Linked DNA regions of Homo sapiens: region 1 is linked to region 2. The links are contacts of gene promoters, found by promoter capture Hi-C in blood cells and fetal thymus (Javierre and others, 2016). All regions are on one chromosome and are shown on one strand. The core of a region is centred on a gene start or on the middle of the fragment in contact, and the rest is flanking DNA. Distances in the headings are between cores, read along the strand shown. Region 1 has its middle 43 kb from the start of LUZP4. Region 2 holds the start of DANT1 (DXZ4 associated non-coding transcript 1, proximal).

Region 1 (3,344 bases), core at 77-2,576, 510 kb after region 2:
ATTTTACGGTGTTTAGTTACGAGTACTAGGATATCCGGGAGCTATGCTACCCAGTCACTGGGCACTTTTATCCTGGATTTAACTGAGGAAAAATTTTACAGAGGGCACGAGATTTGACCTGGATCTCACAGGATGGGAAGGAGCTAGACAGGATGAAAGGAATGAAGTGGGCATTTCCAGGAGTGGAATGGTGGCAATCAGATCCAGTGGCAGGACAATACGTAATGTGAACTGCATATGTAAGTTACATGGTAAGTCTCTGCTCGCACTTCCAAAAACCCCCCAGAAAATCAGTTATAACAAAGAGGGGAAACCATGGATTACCTTTTCTGCATTAGTTGTTTTGGAGAGAATTTGCATTGCAGTAGGATATCTACCACTCAGGAAGGTGAGAATTGGGGATGGGGGTGGGAATAAGATGTGAGGTGACACCAAAGAGGTGAATATCAGATCCACATATCCATCTGTCTATCTGAATGGGCATGTGTTTAATGATTATCTCATCCCAGGGGGAGGAGGGAAGAAGCTTCTCTAGCTATTCTGTTCAGGGCCTGACCACCCCCTCCCATGCCCAGGAGGCATTCACAAATGAAGGCTCGAAGTTTAACCGTTTGAGGAACTACCAGACTGTTTTCCAAAGCAGCGGCACCATTTTACAATCTCACTAGCAATGTATGAGGGTTTCAGTTTCTCTGCATCCTCCCTGACACTTGTTATTATCTGCCTAGTGGATGTGACGTGTTATCTCATTGTGGTTTGGTTTACATTTCCCCCTTCCCAGGGCTAATGATGTTGAATATCTTTCCACGTACTGATTTCCAAATAGCTCTTGATGGCTGATTGTAGGCATTTATTCACAACTCTGGTAACACAGTCACCATATGACCCAGAAATTCGACTCCCATATATATACCCAAGAAAATTTAAAACATATGTTTACACAAAAAAAATTATACAGGAATGTTCACAGTAGTATTATTCATAACAACTAAAAAGAGGAAACAGTCCAAATGTCCATCAATTAATGAATGGACAAACAAAAGTGGTATATTCATACAATGGAACATTATTCAGCCGTAAAAAGGAATGAAGTACTGATACATGCTACAAAGTGGATGAACTTTAGAAACGTCACACTAGGTGAAAGAAGTCAGGAACAAAAGGGCACACGATTCCACTTATATGAAATATCCAGAATAGGAAGATCCAGAGAAATGAAAAGTAGAATGGTTGTTACCAGAGCCTGAAAGGAGGATGAATGGGGAGTAACTTCTTAATTGGTGTGGGGTTTTATTTTGTAGTGATTGATGGAAATGTTTTGGAACAAGATGTGCGCCACTGAGTTGTTTACTTTAAAATGGTTAATTTTAGCTCAAGGAGCCAGTTGGAACCGGCTCCAGCACACCACTGCCTGAAGATTTTGCCCTCTTAAGTCAGAAAGATCTTACTGTTTATGCCTTATGATAGTCACATGCCACCACTGAGAAAATGAGTACCGAAATGACTAGCACTTTGAATGGGAAGGGGGCGAACTCCTGGAGGGCAAAAATTCAATATCTCAAATATATTATCCTATCACCTCTCTGTCTACCTCTCTATCTACCTTCTTACTCACCTTTATTGAATACTGAATTTTCCCAACAGTTTTATTTATGGGGAGATTGAGAACTAGAAATAACTAAGATCATACACGTCTAGGAAGTGGCAGAGGTGGGATTTAAACTTTGGTCCACCTCAGTCTGTGTTCTTACATTTAAATGGAAGCCTCGGGGAGCCATGGGAGTGGTACATAGCCATGTTCCTTGGGTACCCTTAAGCTATGGGGAAACTGCAACACTAAGTATGGCTGCTTCCTAAAGACTTCAGTCCCAGTTCAGAACTGGTGGCTTTGGAGCATTCTGAGGAACTGTGGGGCCGTGGAACTGCCTAGCTGTCAGAAATGATTTAGTCAGAACCATGGGGCTCTACCTGATCTGAGGCTTCTTTTGCCATCCCTTTCAGAAAATCCAAAGAGGAATTTAAATATTTGGGGGTTTTCGTAGGGAGCTGAGATGCATATTGCTTCCAGGTACCTTTAGGGCCATCGTTCCTAAAGACCTCACTTACCAGATGAAGAAACAAGCTTATAGAGGGGAAATGACTTCCCTAAGATCACACAGCTGATTCAGTCAAGCATCACCAGTAGATGAAGAAGTAACTGGAAGAAATTTGTCCTCATCCTCAACCTCTCCATTTTCCATTCCATCTTTTTTAATGTTCCTTCCTTGGTATCTCAATAAGATATACTCTTAAAAAAACTTTATTATATTTATTATATAATTTCATATACTGTATATTATTTATTTATAAATTTCTTGTTTTTTTCTTTTTCTTTTTTTTTTTTTTTTTTGAGGCAGGGTGTCACTCCATAACTCAGGCTGTAGTGCAGTGGCATGATCTCGGCTCACTGCAGCCTCTGCCTCCCTGGCTCAAGCAATCCTCCCATCTCAGCCTCCCGAGTACCTGGGACTGCGGCTGCCTCATCATGCCCAGCTAATATTTATTTATAAATTATACATAATTTATATATTTTGCTGAATGGGTGATTGATTTCTAAAATATTTTAAAGCGAGCCCCAGACAGCGTACTATTGCAAGGTATATATTCATAAAAAAAAGCAGTATGATATATATAATAGCAGAACCTAAATAAACATAAAGCCTACAGTGGGCTGAAGGTAGGAGACCTAGGCCTTGTTTCATTTAGCTCTGCCACTAAGTAGCTATCTAATCATGGGAAAGTTGTTTAAGCCCTTAGTCCCAGATTTATTTCCTTAAAATCAAAATAAAACTATATTTTATTACGATTTACGACACTAAAATTCTATGACAACTCATGGCCAGACACGGTGGCTTACGCCTGTAATCCCAGCACTTTGGGAGGCCAAGGTGGGCAGATCCACTGAGGTCAGGAGTTCAAGACCAGCCTGGCCAGCATGGTGAAACCTCGTCTCTACTAAAAATGCAAAAATTAGCCTCGTGCTGTGGCACGAGCCTGTAGTCCCAGCTACTTGGGAGGCTGAGGCACAAGAATCGCTTGAACCCGGGAGGTGGAGGTTGCAGTGAGCCGAGATCATGCCACTGCACTCCAGCCTGGGGGACAGAGCAAGACCTTGTCTCAAAAACAAAACAAAACACAAAAACCTATAACAATTCAAATTCCCTGAGGGATATTTGAATTTAAAAAGCGAACAGGCGTTTAAAGTTCCCTGGTTACTTATCTGGTAAAGGAAAGTGATTTGGGGGAGCATTAGTTATAGCTGTGGCGATGGGAGAAGAATTGTTCAGAGGTCTTAAAGTTACGCT
Region 2 (3,195 bases), core at 140-2,639:
TTTCAAATCCTATTTTACAGAACTGTAGAAAGATGAAAATGTGAAAGCCCTGAAATTTTTGTTGTTTGAGACGGAATCTCACTCTGTCACCAGGGCTGGAGTGCATTGGCAGGTTATCATCTCGCTGCAACCTCCCCCTCCCGGGTTCAAGCGATTTTTCTGCCTCAGTTTCCCGAGTATCTGGGATTAGAGGCACCCGCCACTACACCCAGCTATTTTTTTGTATTTTTAGTAGAGACGGGGTTTCACCATGTTGGCCAGGCTAGTCTCGAACTCCTGACCCTGTGATTCGCCCGCCTTGGCCTCCCAAAGTCCAGGGATTAAATGTGTGAGCCACCTCGCCCAGGCAAGTCCCTGAAAATTTTGAGGGCTTGTCCTTCCACGTTGTTAAGTGCATATATGGAAATGAAGTATATTGCCGTTTTTCTTTCTTTTTTTAAAAGAAGGGCTCTGGCTCTGATGCCCAAGATGGAGTGCAATGGAGCAATCCCAGTTCACTGCAGTCGCAAAGTCCTGGGCACAAGCAATCCTCCCGCCCCAGCCTCCAGAGTAGCTGGAACTACAGGCCCGCGGCATCATGCGTGGCTAATTTTTGTTTAGAGACGGCGTTTCACCATGTTGGCCAGGCTGGACTCGAACTCCTGGTCTCAAGTGATTCTCCCGCCTTAGTCTTCCAAGGTGCTGGGATTACAGGCGTGAGCCACTGCGCCCGGCCTGAAGCTGTATTTCTTTTTGTTCAATTATTCGTTAGAGGAAATGTTTCTTCTACAGTTTTACATTACGGGGAGCCCTGCCTGTGGGCAGGGCAGCCACGTGGTTTAACAACCACTCAATCTAAACCGAACGAGAGCGCACACCTCCTCAGCCATGTAGGTGGGGAGAACACCAGTGGGGCGAAGAAATCTGCAGGCGCACCCTTCTCCCTCTGCCCGCCCTGCCACAGGAGACGCTTCCAGGCTCCCGACGGGGAAGGCCAGAAAGGCTCTACTAGAAGGACCTCCCTACACTTGCCAGAACTAAAACTTAGGCAGCGGCAAAAACTCGGCGTCCAAAACGCGCCCGAAAGCCCTCCGATGCCTGCAGGACGCTGGAGCCAGCTCGGCTGCAGCCGCCATTGCACAAGGTCGCGCGCCCGGCACTGGCTGCCCAGAAGCCGGAGGGCAGGGAAGGTCCTCTGCACCAGAAAGGCTGCCCATGGCACAAACCCTGATCTCGTGTCCTGTGTCAAGGAAAGGAAAGGCAAATAAAGGAAAGAAAAGGCGAAGGAGACCTACCTGATTGAGGCCACGCGCCAACGGGAAAGGCCCAGTCCGCTCTACGTCCCGCAGTCGCACCTCAGATATGGGGTAGGATGCCCCCTCCCCATTCCTGGGAGGTGAGGGCTGAAAGAATCCGGGGAGGGGAAGGGAGAGGAATCCGGTCTTCCTAGAGCCGGCTCCGCCCAGGGTAGGAGTGGGGTGTCCTCAGCCTGCTCCTGGTGCAAGAAGGGGCGGAGAGAGGCAGCTTTGGGAAAGTTGGGTGGGAAACCTCTTGTCTTAGCTAATTGCTGAGGAGTACCTATTTGTCCCATTTGTTTCCTTTGAGTAAGGTCTTCGCTGGCAAGAGGGCAAAGGAGACTGATGTATCGAGAAAATGAAAAGTTTACTGTTTAACATTCACAAAACGGTTTAGAGGAAAAAGAAGCTTAAGCAAGTACACTTTCAGGCGATGTTATAAGTTTGTATCATCTGTATGCCTGACGTTATTGAAAGCTTCAATTGTTCCCTCCCCAGGTGAGAGGCGTCTTCCCAAGACCAGACACTGCCGGTGCCCTGTCACCTCCCACTTTTTTTCTGGAACTGCTAGGGGCCCAGCGCTGCTTCTGCAGCCTTCCAGGGGATGCTGCTGGTGGCGCGTATGCCGCCTAGGTGGGTGGGGATGTGCTGAGGCCGAAGGAGTGACAGCGACTCGCAGGTTTCCCCTGCCTGACCAGTCCTCTGATTGATATTTTCTTTTGAAAAAAGGGACTTGCGGCCGGGCGCGGTGGCTCACGCCTGTAATCCAACACTTTGGGAGGCCGAGGCGGGTGGATCACCTGAAGTCGGGAGTTCGAGACCAGCCTGACCAACATGGAGAAACCCTGTCTCTATTGAAAATACAAAATTAGCCGGGCTTGGTGGCGAATGCCTGTAATCCCAGCTACTCAGGAGGCCTAGGCAGGAGAATCGCTTGAACCTGGGAGGCGGAGGTTGTGGTGAGTCGAGATCGCGCCATTGCACTCCAGCTTGGGCAACAAGAACAAAACTCCGTCTCAAAAAAAAAAAAAAAAAAAAAAAGGGACTTGCTGCTCTTGCAGAATGGAGACACCTGTAGCGTATTAAGGAAAATGAAGATAATCTGTTGATGACAGTACTCTGAGGAGTGTTAACTTGGGGCATGCATCCTCCCAGCACCTTGTTCCCTAAGGGGAGGGGAGATGCAAATAAAGGTCCTTTAAAAATAATAGCCTGGTGAGTTCCCAAGGCTCATGGGAATCATGCAAGCTATTCGGGTTGCTTAAAAACTTGACTGTGAAGATGTTGTGGAATTTTTTTTTTCTCTTCACAATGTAGTCCTTGATTGGTTTTTGGGAGAATTTTTTTTTTCACAAATGGAAACGTGTTTTCAGTGGGAACCAAAGTCATTCCTGCCCAGGTACACTCTCCAGTGAACTCACCTTAAAAGAGACACTTAAAAAGAAATCTAAGGCCTCTGAGGGCACTACAACTGGTCTTTGACCAGCTCCAACTTCTCAGAATTTCCTGGCTCCATTTCACTCCTCACCAACTGACGTTCACACTCTCAGTCCGCCACCCCCACCCCAAGACCACCTGCTGCCAGATACTCCCAGACCTTTTCTCTTACTCATTCCCTTGCGGTTTGGGCAGAGGTGGGTGGGAATTACCAGGAGGTGGGGGGAGGAGGAGCATAAATGGGCACAGGTGATGCTTTATTCTTGTCAGGCAGCTGCCTTCACCTGCTAAGGGGAGAGTTGGGGGAGGGTTTAAGGCTCTGCCACAACTCCACGTTGTAGAAAATGGAAACTGAAAAGAGCTTTCCCCTCACCCCAGGTGGAATTACCCAAAAAGTAACTGAGCTATGAATCTCAGCTGCCCCTCTCTGGATACTTCCCTGTCTTTCTCCTCCTTTATTTAAGGGAGGAATGTCCATCGCCTG

What was found. The method cuts DNA at HindIII sites, captures the fragments that hold promoters and counts their contacts. A CHiCAGO score of 5 or more calls a contact.
Region 1: a fragment that was not itself captured here is called in contact with the fragment with the promoter of DANT1 in region 2 in 4 of 17 cell types (erythroblasts, megakaryocytes, fetal thymus and 1 more); the score reaches 8.3 in erythroblasts.

What each region holds. Positions count from the first base shown.
Region 1 is chrX:115,331,072-115,334,415 of GRCh38, reverse strand. No RefSeq gene overlaps it. Among named protein-coding and RNA genes, the nearest start is that of LUZP4, 43 kb to the right of the region's middle. The HindIII fragment of the contact is 1,596 bases long and covers 529-2,124 here.
Region 2 is chrX:115,839,158-115,842,352 of GRCh38, reverse strand. It overlaps DANT1 (DXZ4 associated non-coding transcript 1, proximal), which reads right to left and starts at 1,389. Exons shown (of 2, transcript NR_147173.1): 1 at 1,275-1,389. It overlaps DANT2 (DXZ4 associated non-coding transcript 2, distal), which reads left to right. Exons shown (of 2, transcript NR_132337.1): 2 at 1,773-1,957. RefSeq lists enhancers at 477-1,075, 1,076-1,675. The HindIII fragment of the contact is 4,420 bases long and covers 1-1,685 here.